Linked DNA regions of Homo sapiens: region 2 is linked to region 1. Evidence: promoter capture Hi-C in 16 types of primary human blood cells and fetal thymus (Javierre and others, 2016). All regions are on one chromosome and are shown on one strand. Each heading gives the region's core, a stretch centred on a gene start or on the middle of the fragment in contact. The rest is flanking DNA. Distances are from core to core; before and after follow the strand shown.

Region 1 (6,120 bases), core at 1-2,500:
GCTTCTCCAGCTTCACTTTCAGATAGGGAAGAAGAACCAGGAACATAATAGATTTCCAAAGCTGCTGCTTTGGGAGACCAGCACTAGCCAATCTCTGAGACTTGTGAGTGTCCCCCATTACAATTCTCTTTAAGCCGTAAAAGTTTTCAGAAAATGAGGCACTGGTTCTAGACAGATAATGTTGCTGGAGCAGAAGATCTAGCAGAGTAAAGATTTCATCAAACCACCTCCACAAGAAGCCATAGTGGGTGGGATTTGATTCTGCAAGAACCTAAAGCAAAATAAAGCAATAAGTGAAATTCATTCCATTACACAAGTTCTACACCTATTTACATTCCCCCTTTTCCTCTAAAGTCTACACAATTTGTTTTAAATAAGTCACTGTTGGACCCTGAAATGCTGGGTATTCAGTACAGGTCTCTACACATAACAGAGACTCAGTAACTCTTAAGTCATGGGATACAAGTTATTTGCAAATTGGCTATTTCAAACGCTAGGCTACCAAATAAGCACAAATTATTCGTTTGTTTTTTACCCAGTTGTCCCTAAAACCTTTCCAAGAATTAATACCTTACCTTGACCACATGCTGAAGAGCGGGTCTCACTGCTGTCATTAAACTGTCCTGTGCTACCACCTCAAAGATGGATGGCTGGTCATCGGCCACAGAAGCAGCTGTGAAGTGAGCCCCGTGCTCAGCCATAGTTTCCTGCGTGTACTGGCTTTCACTTTTCCCACAAACTCTCTCGTGAGCATGAACTTTTTCGGGAGGAAGAGTATCAGATGGGTGCTCAGTCTTAAAGGTAAACTTTCTGCATGATATCTGAAACTCGAAACTCAATCTTATGGGCAAAAATGAACTGGGAAAAAAAGACCTGGAGGCCGAGGGTAGTCTCAAGAAGGTTAAGAACAAAGTTAACTCGGACGTGGGTGGAAGTAGTATGTGGCGAGGGGGTAACTTGTCAAATGCTGCACGTCAGGGCAGAGCGTGACTGTGGGGGACAGGTATGGGGGAAGGAACGCAATCCTCTGGAGCTGCGAACCAGAAACGCCCCCTCCTCCCCAATCGTGAGAGCTCAAAAGCCAGCCGACTCTGAGGATTCAGTCGTGCCACTGTGAGCCCGGGACACAAGGGCTGACTCCAGCTGTTGGCTTTGAGTATCCCCGCCCGCGCCCGTCCTTGCTCGCTGACCCCAGGCGAGGCGCAAACAACCCACGACGCCACGTTTGAAGGGAGGTCTCCGCTTTATGACAGAAGCCGCACCCGGAAATGAAACCACCAGGACCTCTGGGATGCCTGGCGGAAGAGAGGCGCTCTAGTTCCGAATGCGGTCCGGAAACCAGAACTAGAGAACTCTATGACCCACCTGAGCTTCCGCTCCCGCCCCGCTGAAACAGAAGAGGGCCCTTGTGGGCTGGTTTTGGCTAGTTTGGTTTACTTTTCGTAGCTGGGTCTGCATGGTAGCCTCGCTGGAAAGCTACAGCTCTGAACCTCTCTCTGCGAGGTCTTTTTGACAAGCTGTTTGGGGCACCGCGCAGACGTCTGGCGCCGGGAGCCAGAGCTCGGGCCCGTTGCTGAGCCCTGTGTTCCTGCAGGCGATGAAGCTAGGGGCGGTGGGAGGAAGGGAATCTGGAGGTGGAAAGGACTTTGCTGTACGCGTGCGGCAGGGATGGTGGTTAATTTATATGTCTTAGCCTTCCAGAAATGATTTAAAGCGACATAGCAGGAGATAGGAGCCTTAGATTTATTGCCGCCAATTATAAGGAAAGATGATTGGATTGAGAAAGGTTCATGCTTGTTCCTCAGTACTTGAGACGGTTAATTTTCATCCAAGCTGGTAGTTTAACGTCTTCCAGGTTTTGGCTATATTCAAGCATAACTGCATGCACTTGCTATACTGGATGAAAATGGTCTCCATCCTTGAACACAGTTGTATATGTCACCACCAGCGATATGAATACAGTACTAACGCAGAGGGAGCTTTATGAATTGTAACTAGCATGCACTGGGGACACTTGACAGAAAGTTTCCTTTCATGCCGTTTTTATACCAAAATGAATGTGATTTACCTTAAGGTTTGTAAAGTGCTTTTATGTTATGTACAGCTTTGTCTCGCTGAAGTTGGCTGACACAGCCTTATTGAATTTGGATGAGAGTTCCACCTCTCCTCCCTTCCTCTGGGAAGTGCCACCTCTGGGCTAAATAGCTGGGAATAGAAGGTATTGTTTACTGCCCTAGAGGCCCTTATGTTATAAAAATAATTGGTTTGCATAATGAGAACCCTCAAAAACAAGGTTTGGATTTAGTTATTCCAATAGGAGAGAAAACCTTACAAATTGTCCTTAATTATAGTTATAAAAAGTGTTTTTTACTCTACCAAAAGACATTATATTGATATATGATTTTTACCTTACAGAGTTTTAAGACTAGACATAGTTTATCCATATGAAGCACCTGGATACATATTAGGTGCTTGTTTAATAGTAACTGTTATGTACAAGCTTTTCTTAAGTGAATAGCAAAAATACAAAGTTGAGAGGTAGCATCAACTAAATCAAGCAGGAAATTAAACATTTTTGTCACTTAGGGATCTTTGGTTACAAGCAACAGAAACAAACAGGCTAATTTAAACTAAAACGGAATTTATTAGAAGTGTATGGAGTAGCTCACAAAATAAGTAAAGCCAGCCCTGAAAGAACAGGAACTTAACAATACTATTGGGACTGCCTAACAGGAATTAGAAGTTCTTATCCAGGCAACGTTGTTGCAGTGAACGAGCTTCCACCAATTTCTGTTTGTGACTCTGCTCGTGATACAAATTTTGACTGACCTCTCTTGGTTCAAGTTCCCTCTCCACCCTGTCTTTCACTCTTAGCCAGGGGAAGGCAGGATGTCTTGATTGATAGTCCCATGGAAGTACTCCAAAAGTTAACTAAACGTATGGCATAAGAACGCCTATAATCCCAGCACTTTGGGAGGCCGAGGCGGGTGGATCACCTGAGGTCAAGAGGTCATGACCAGCCTGACCAACATGGAGAAACCCAGTCTGTACTAGAAATACAAAAAATTAGCTGGGTGTGGTGGCACATACCTGTAATCCCAGCTACTCGGGAGGCTGAGGCAGGAGAATCGCTTGAACCCTGGAAGCGGAGGTTGTGGTGAGCCGAGATTGCACCATTGCACTCCAGCCTGGGTAACTGAGCGAGACTCCATCTCCAGAAAAAAGAAAAGAAAAAGGAAAGGTAGGGCCTGGTATGGTGGCTCATACCTGTAATCCCAGCACTTTGGGAGGCTGAGACGGGTGGATCACGAAGTCAGGAGTTTGAGACCGGCCCAGCCGACATGGTGAAAACCCATCTCTACTAAAAATACAAAAATTAGCTTGGAATGATGGTGCATGGTGGTGGATGTCTGTTATCCCAGCTACTCTGGAGGCTGAGGCAGGAGAATCACTTGAACCCGGGAGGTGGAGGTTGCAGTGAGCCGAGGTCACACCACTGCACTCCAGCCTGGGGGACAGAGTGAGACTCTGTCTCAAAAAAAAAAAGAAAACAGAAATTTGCAACTCGAATAAGAGGTCTGGGAGGCCCAAATCTTTTAGACGTGATAATCGGAATGCCCTTCTGAGGACATAACAAAGGCCTAAATTATGAGGAGCCAGCCATATGAGGAGTTGGGGAAAAGAATATTAGGCAGAAGGAAGAGTATTGTGAAGACCCTAAGGTGGGAAAGAGCTTGGTGTGTTTGAGGGCTATTATAACTGGCAAAAGGTGAAATGATGAGGAAATGAGCAGTAACTGAAAAGCACAAAATGATGTTAGAGAGGTAGACAGGCCAAACCATGCAGGGACTCACAGGCCATGGGAACAACCCTGGATTTTAGCCCAAGTGCAATGGGAAGCCAATGAAGGATTCACACACCAGAGATGTGTGATCAGGTATATATATAAACAAATATATATATATATATATATATATATATATATATATATATATACAAATATATATATAATATATACAAATATATATAATATATATACAAATATATATAAAATATATATACAAATATATATAAAAATATATATACAAATATATAATATATACAAATATATATAATATATAATAAATAAAATATATAAATATATAATATATATTTATATATTTGTATATATTATATATTTGTATATATATTTGTGTATATATACATATATTAAAAAATATATATATATATATTTTTTTTTTTTTGAAACAGAGTTTTACTCTTGTTGCCCAGGCTGGAGTGCAATGGCATGATGACTCACTGCAACCGCCGCCTCCTGTGTTCAAGCGATTCTCCTGCCACGGCCTCCCAAGTAGCTGGGATTACAGGCGCCCGCCAACATGCCCGGCTAATTTTTGTATTTTTAGTAGAGATGGGGTTTCACCATGTTGGCCAGGCTGGTCTTGAACTCCTGGCCTTGTGATCTGCCCACCTTGGCCTCCCAAAGTGCTAGGATTACAGGCGTGAGCCACCGTGCCTGGCCAGGTTTATATTTTTTTAAAGATGTCTCTGATGGTTTTGTGGGTATGCAGTATTTATATCAAGCTTTACATTTATGATATATGCACATTTTTGTTTTTGTTTTTGTTTTCTTGAGATAGAGTCTGGCTCTGTAGCCCAGGCTGGAGTGCAGTGGCACAGTCTCGGCTCACTGCAACCTCCACCTCCCGGGTTCAAGTGATTCTCCCACCTCAGACCCCCCGGAGTAGCTGGGACTACATGCATGTGCCACCACACCCGGCTAATTTTTGTATTTTTAGTAGAGACAGGGTTTTGCCATGTTGGCCAGGCTGGTCTCAAACTCCTGGCCTCAAGTGATCCCCCTGCCTCAGCCTCCCAAAGTGCTGGGATTACGGGTGTGAGCCACCACATCAGGCCAGATATGCACATTTTTAAATGTATGTTATACATCCAAAAAAGTTAAACAACCTGGCCACTACGTGGAGAATGGTAGAGAGAAGACTTATAGCCTTCTAATAGTCTAGGCAAAAGGTGATGGTGGATTTATGAGATTGAATAGAGGGAGTTGGATGGCTTGGAGTTGTTGTTTTTTTTTTTTTTTTTTTTTTTTTTGAGACAGTCTTGCTCTGTTGCCCAGGATGGAGTGCAGTGGCGCAATCTCGGCTCACTGCAACCTCTGCCTCCCGGGTTCAAGCAGTTCTGTACCTCAGCCTCCCGAGTAGCTGAGATTACAGGCGCCCACCACAACGCCTGGCTAATTTTAGTAGAGACGGGGTTTCATCATCTTGGCCAGGCTGGTCACGAACTCCTGACTTTGTGATCCACCTGCCTTGGCCTCCCAAAGTGCTGGGATTACAGGTGTGAGCCACAGCGCCCAGCTACGGCTTTGAGATTTTAAAGGTAGAATTGACAACTGGAGATGGATTGGATGTGGCAGTTGAAGGAAAGGGAAATCAGGAATGACCCCTAGGTTTCTGGCTTGAGCAGCTCAGTGCAATTTATTAAAATAATCACAATTACAGGAAATAGTTCCATAGTCCATGCTATATGCCAGCCATAGTTCTAAGTGCTTTACATTTAATTTATTTCATTGTTCAATATTATGATTAGATGTTACTATCTTCCTCCATTTTATAGATGAGAAAACCAAAGAAAGCACATAGATGGAGGAAACTGGGGGAAGAATAGCTTTCAAACATGTTAGGCAATGAGAAGTTGATGAAAGTTTTTGAACAGCAGAGAGGTATGAATCAAAGCTCTTAAATATTTTTCTTTTTCTTTTTTTTTCCTTTTCCTTTTTTTTTTTTTTTTTTTTTTTTTTTTTTTTTTTTTTTTTGAGATGGAGTCTTACTTTATTGCCCAGGCTGCAGTGTAGTGGTGTGATTTCGGCTCACTGCAACCTCCTCCTCTCAGGTTCAAGTAATTCTCCTGCCTCAGCCTCCCTAGTACCTGAGACTACAGGCATGTGCCACCATGCCTGGCTAATTTTTGTATTTTTAGTAGAGTCAGGGTTTTACCATGTTGGCCAGGCTGGGCTCAAAGTCCTGACCTCAGGTGATCCACCTGCCTTGGCCTCCCAAAGTGCTGTGATCACAGGCGTGAGCCACCACGGCCAGCCTC
Region 2 (6,665 bases), core at 2,013-4,512, 280 kb before region 1:
CCTTAAAATAATAAAGGCCCTATACAACAAACCCACAGCCAGCATCATACTGAATAGGAAAAAGTTGCAAGCATTCCCTCTAAGAACTGGAGCAAGACAAGGATGTTCATTCTCACCACTCCTATTCAACATAGTGCTGAACTCATAGGGCAATCAGGCAAGAGAAAGAAATAAAAGGTATCCAACTTGGAAAAGAGGAAGTCAAATTATCTCTGTTCACTGGCAATATAACCTTATATCTAGAAATTGCTAAAGACTTCTCCAAAAAGCTCTAGATCTGATAAATGAATTCAGTAAAGTTTCACAATACGAAATCAGTGTACAAAAGTCATTAGCATTTCTCTGCATTAATAATGATCAAGCAGAGAACCAAATCAAGAAGGCAATCCCATTTAACATAGCTACAAAAAATGAAGTAAAATAAAATAAAATGCCCAGGAATATATTTAACCAAGGAGATAAAAGATCTTTACAAGGAAAACTACAAAACACTGATGAAAGCAGTTGTAGATGACACAAACAAATGGAAAAGCATCTTATTCTCATGGATCAGAAGAATTAATGTCATTAACATGACCATACTGCACAAAGCAATCTACAGATTCAATGCAATATCTATCAAAATACCAATGTTGTTTTTCGCAGAGTTGGAAAAAAACAATCTTAAAATTCACTTGGAACCAAAAAAGAGCCCAAATGGCTAAAGCAATCCTAAGCAAAAAGAACAAACTCGGAAGCAACACATTACCTGATCTCAAACTATACTACAAGGCTATGGTAAGCAAAACACCATGGTACTGGTACAAAAATAGACATATAGATTAATGGAACAGAGAACTCAGAAATAAAGCCACACACATACAGCCAACTGATCTTTGGCAAAGTTGACAAAAACATACACTGGGGAAAGGATCCCCTTTTCAATAAATGATGGTGGGGAAATTGGATTGCCACATCCAGAAGAATGCAACTGGACTCCTATCTCTCACGATATACAAGATGGATTAAAGACTCAATTATAAGACGTGAAACTATAAAAATTCTAGAAGAAAACCTAGGTAAAACTCTTGTGGACATTGATCTAGGCAACGAATTTATGACTAAGGCCTCAAAATCACAAGCAACAAAAACAAAAATAGACAAATGGGACTTAAACTAAAAAGCTTCTGCACAGAAAAAAAAATCAATAGAGTGAACAGACCTGCAGAATGGGAGAAAATATTTGCAAACTATCCATTCAACCATTCAACAGGGGACTGGCATCCAGAATTTGTGAAAAACTCAAACTTCAACAACAATAACAGCAACAACAACAAAAGTGGGCAAAGGATTTGAATAGACATTTTTTTAAAGAAGACATACAAATGACCAACAAGCATATAAAAAAATTTTCAGCATCACTAATTGTCAGATAAATGCAAATGAAAACCACAATGAGATATCATCTTACATGAGTCCGAATGGTTATTACTAAAAAGTCAAAAAATAACATATGTTGGCAAAGATGCAGGTCACATTTCTGACCCCTCCAAGAGCAGCTGAAACAACTGTTGCACAGAACCTTCAACTCTTTCCAGCCTCCAGGGTGAGACACAACTGTATATTCTAAAGGGTGATAACTGATTGGAAGGCTTTCCATCTAAGAAGTTTCATACACAGGCTCCTACCCCAGCCTGTGTATGAAACTAGTAGATCTAAGTGCTGGGAGTCCAGAGGCAGACATGACAGGAAAGTTCTGGAATATGTGAACAAACATGAGTACACGGAATGGCAGAGCATGAAAAGGGATAATAGGGTTGTAAAGCAAGGCAGTACAACAGAAAGGCTCTCGGTATCTGTGAATGTGTGTCTGTCTGGTTTGTCTGTCTGGTAAGAGGAGTTGGTACATTAGACTGGGAAGTCAGGGAGGCCTCAGTGAGCAAAAAGCTGCCATGTGAAACCCTAGGGCAGGTTCTTCTCAGTCTTGACATTCACACTGTGATTGAGTGTGGATATGAAGGATGGGACGGGCGGGGCGGGCATTGTGTCAGGTCTTGGAGAGGCCAAGAGAGGCAGAGGCAGGGGCAGGGTAGAAAAACAGAATCAGAGCAAACATTGTCAGTTGCAAATTATCACTTTTGCAACACTGAATTTTCTTGTTTTTCTCCCCTTTCCCTTTCCTTGGCTGGTTAGTTAATATATTTTTATAGCGCCCTTTTCTTTCCTTTGCATGATTGTGAAATCTTGCTGTTTACCTCTACTTTTAACACCATCCTTGTAAAGTCCCACAGTCCTCACAGTGGTCAGGCTGCATCAGCATAATGGAAAAAACAATATTTCTCCTTGATTTAACTTTGGAGAGAGTCTGACAGAAGGAGTGAGTGCTCTCAAATGCCTTCAGTTCTGCTGAGTCCTTAGGAGTCCAGTTAGGCCTTCCTGGGCCATCACTGCTTGAAGCCCAATTATGTGATTTGTCACATCTTCCTCTAGACTATACTCATGCCTAAAGAATCTCCATCCTTGAAACTCCCATTTCCTGCGTTAATTTCCAGGAAATGGACTCCCTTCAAGGATCCTCAGAAAGAATCTAAAAAAGGGTCCTTGAAGGCAGTTAATTTCTGGTTAAATAAAACATCTGCCATCTTTTCAGAATATAGACTTTTCCTTCTTACCATAAAAAACGTGAGCTTGTTCTGGGCAGTGATTTCTTTGCTAGGTCCCAAAAGTACAGGCAATGAAAACAATAATAGACAAATGGTATTGCATCAAACAAAAAAAACTACTGCACAGCAAAGGAAATAATTAACAGAGTGAAGATACAGTCCACGGATTGGGAGAACATATTTGCAAATTATACAGCATAAAATGGGCTAATATCCAAAATATACAAGGTATTCAAATGACTCAATCGAAAGAAACAAATAACTTGATTAAAAACTGGGCAAACAATGTGAATACACATTTTTCAAAATACACACAAATGGCCAATAGATATTTGGAAAAATGCTCAATATTACTGATCAGGGAAATGTAAATAAAACCACAATAATATATCACCTCATGCTGTTAGATTGACTATTACAAAAAAGATGAATGAAAACAAGTGTTGGAGAGGATGAGGAAAAAAGAAAACTCTTGTACACTGTTGGAGGAAATGTAAATTAGTACAGTCATTGATATGGTTTGGCTGTGTCCCCATCCAAATCTGAGCTTGAATTGTATCTCCCGGAATTCCCACATGTTATGGGAGGGACCCAGGGAGAGGTAGTTTAATGATGGAGGCCGTCTTTTCCCATGCTATTCTCATGATAGTGAATAAGTCTCATGAGATCTGATGGGATTATCAGGGGTTTCCTCATTTGCTTCTAGCTCATTTTCTCTTGCCACCACCATGTAAGAAGTGCCTTCACTTCCCGCCATGATTCTGAGATTTCCCCAGCCATGTGGAACTGTCCCAATAAACCTCCTTTTCTTCCCAGTCTTGGGTATGTCTTTATCAGCAGCATGAAAACAGACTAATATAGTAAATTGTTACCAGTAGAGGGGTATTGCTGAAAAGATACCAGAAAATGTGAAAGTGATTTTGGAGCTGGGTAACAGGCAGAAGTTGGAACAGTTTGGAAGCCCCAGAGGAAGACAGGAAAATGTGGGAAAGTTTGGAACTTCCTAGAGACTTGTTGAATGGCTTTGACCAAAATGCTGATAGTGATATGGACAATAAGGTCTAGGCTGAGGTGGTCTCAGATGGAGATGAGGAGCTTGTTGGGAACTGGAGTAAAGGTGGATCTTGTTATGTTTTAGCAAAGAGGCTGGTGGCATTTTGCCCCTGCCCTAGAAATTTGTAAAACTTTGAACTTGAGAAAGATGATTTAGGGTATCTGGTGGAAGAAATTTCTAAGCAGCAAAGCATTCAAGAGGTGACTTGTTAAAGGCATTCAATTTCATAACAGAAGCAGAGCATAAAAGTTTGGAAAGTTTGCAACCTGACTATGCAATAGAAAAGAAAACCCCATTTTCTGGGGAGAAATTCAAGCCAGCTGCAGAAATTTGCATAAGCAGTGAGGAGCCTACTGTTAATCCCCAAGACCATGGGGAAAATGTCTTTAGGCCATGTCAGAGACCTTCACAGCAGCCCCTCCCATCACAGGTCTGGAGGCCCAGGAGGAAAAAGTAGTTTCCTGGGCTGGACAGAGGATCCCTGTGCTGTGTGCAGCCTAGGGACTTTGACAGAACAGGAGCATCACCATCTTGGACAAACACCACCATTCTAAAGTTCCCCTTAATCAAAAACCACCTAAATCCACAGGGCATCAGCCTAAAGGCTAAGGCCAGCATGACCATAAACCATAAATGACATCTCTGACCAGAAACATTTCAACCATAAGATAAACCCCTCCCCAGAGAGATGTCAGCCCCAAGACAACCTCCCCTCCTACCAGAGACATTCCAAACCCACAATAAACTTCTTCCCCACAAAGAAACATTCCAAGCCTATGATAAGCTCTCTCACCCTAAAATCAACAAATACGCTTAATCTGTAAGAGAGTGTGCTCCTGACCAAAATCAGCCAGAAGCCCCTCTCAGGTTTATTCTCCAAAATAAACCTGTCTTTGACTGGTGAGTCACTTTTCGTGTTTCTTTCCTCTTTCTTTAACTCTTACATTTGCTGCCAAAACTCAGGATGGGTGCTGGGGGTAGAGGTTCTCCTGCAACCCAAAAAGCAGTGGACAGCAGCTGCTCATCCTGCTGGATCCTGAGAGTCTCTGGCCACCCATCTTGTCTTGTCTCTCACTTCACTTTTCTAGCAATTTGTCTGAGGAGGACAACTAACCTGAAGGGGACTGTGAGGCTCAGGCTGGGGCAAATCTCCAGTGAACCCTCAAAGCCCTCAGGTCTTAGGAATCCACCTCTGGCTGCCCACAATGGGTATTTTGCTCTCTTCCCTCCTCCCTCATCCTCTTCTCTCTCTCTCTCTCTCTCTCTCTCTCTCTCTGTCTCTCTCTCCCTCTCTTCCTTGTGAAGCTCTAGTCCAAGGGGCCCTTTGCCAATTCCAATCAGAACATCCAACATCGGACACTAATCCAGCTGACTAGTAAGATCTGCCCTCTCCTGACTTTCTCACAGCACCTGGGAGAGTCAGGTCAGCTGTCCCGGTCCTCAGAGGACCAGTGGGACTAAGCTAGAAGAAATCTTGGAGATGCCCAGTTTCTTCGCAGCTTGATCATCCTCTTTATAAAGAGGATTCCAGGTTTCTGTCTTTTATCTGTGGATGCCTAGAACAAAAACAGACACCTTCAGCTTCCTCTTACCAGTCCACATGGGTGCCAAACAATCCCACTTTCCTAAGTCCTCTCCATTGGGCTGTCTCCTTCACAATGTTGCTAAGCTTGGCTTAAAGGAAGCATAAAGCCAAAGAGTATGCTTTTTTATTGCAACATGGCCTGGCCCCAATACAAATTAGATAATGACAGCTGGTAGCCTGAAAATGGCACCTTTGACTTTCAAATTCTCAGGGACCTTGACAACTTTATAACTAGGAACAGCAAATGGCAGGAGGTTCCCTATATTCAGGCTTTCTTTTACTTTAGATCCCAACCCTCCCTGTGTCAAACTTGCACCCCTCATGAAGTCTTTCTTCTTAATGATAACCTTCCCCAGGTCTCTCCTTTCTCTGAAACTCCTTCCTCCAAAACCCCTTTGACCCTGCAGATGAACCCCCTCCATATTCTTATCCCCCTGCATCTGCTCCTCAACCTATCTGAATCCTCCACTTCAGTGACGCCTCCTGCCCGCAAGCTTTCAGCTCCAAACCCTGCTCCTTCTCCTTCTCCATCTGTTACCCATTCAAAAACTGCTCCAACCAGTCAAACCACCCTGCCATTCTCCGTCTCCAGGAAGTGGCTGCGGTTGAAGGCATTGCTCCCATTCATGCCCTTTCTCCACATCTGATTTGTCGCAGATCAAACAGTGCCTGGGATCTTTCTCTGAAAATCCCCCTGACTAGTGCAGGGAATTCCTGCACATAACCCAATCCTTTAATTTAACATGGCATATTTATATAATTCTAACCTCCACCCTCACCCCTGATGAAAAACAGCTCTCAATTTAATTAAAATGAATATTCAAGCTATGAGTATATTCAAAAGGCCTTTATGTTTTTCTCTTCATAAATCTTGTTTTCCTGGAAAAGGTTTTTTTCCCCAGTCAACTGAATTACTTTTCTCCACTCTGTCTTACCACTCTTGGTGCATATATGAAAAATCCCAAAATGACTTCTGGTGGCCTGGGACTCCTTGGGAAAACAGAAAAGCTGCCACAAATCCCGTTTTGGGAAAAAATCTGTTTTCCTTATGGAACCCCTGGAATTAAAGATGAATAAGTACCTCTCAAAATCTGTCTTTGTCTTCCAGCTATGCTTGTTTATTAGGCCCTGGAAACTGTTTTCATAGCCCTGTTCTTAAAGGGTCTCACCCAAAGGCCAGTGATCCAATTGGGAAAGGGGCAAAAAAAAAAAAAATTCTAATTACTGGATCTTCTTCTGGTTGTCTGTGTGGCTATGTATGTGTTATGTGTGCAATGCCTATTTAAAAAGCTCTAATTAATTGACCTAAGAAAAATAAGCACTTAAATCAAATATTTTTAACAGAAAAGTAAAAGCTGTGGGACCTTTCAGTTCATGTGACTTT

What was found. Contacts are between HindIII fragments. The CHiCAGO score rates a contact against its expected background, and 5 or more counts as called.
Region 2: a fragment that was not itself captured here is called in contact with the fragment with the promoter of PEX12 in region 1 in 4 of 17 cell types (non-activated CD4 T cells, naive CD4 T cells, naive CD8 T cells and 1 more); the score reaches 8.1 in non-activated CD4 T cells.

Annotation. Positions count from the first base shown.
Region 1 is chr17:35,577,321-35,583,440 of GRCh38, forward strand. PEX12 (peroxisomal biogenesis factor 12) reads right to left here and starts at 1,251. Exons shown (of 3, transcript NM_000286.3): 1 at 576-1,251; 2 at 1-271. The coding sequence starts at 701. RefSeq lists an enhancer at 515-1,330. The HindIII fragment of the contact is 3,440 bases long and covers 1-2,498 here.
Region 2 is chr17:35,293,434-35,300,098 of GRCh38, forward strand. No RefSeq gene overlaps it. Among named protein-coding and RNA genes, the nearest start is that of SLFN5, 54 kb to the left of the region's middle. The HindIII fragment of the contact is 4,202 bases long and covers 1,162-5,363 here.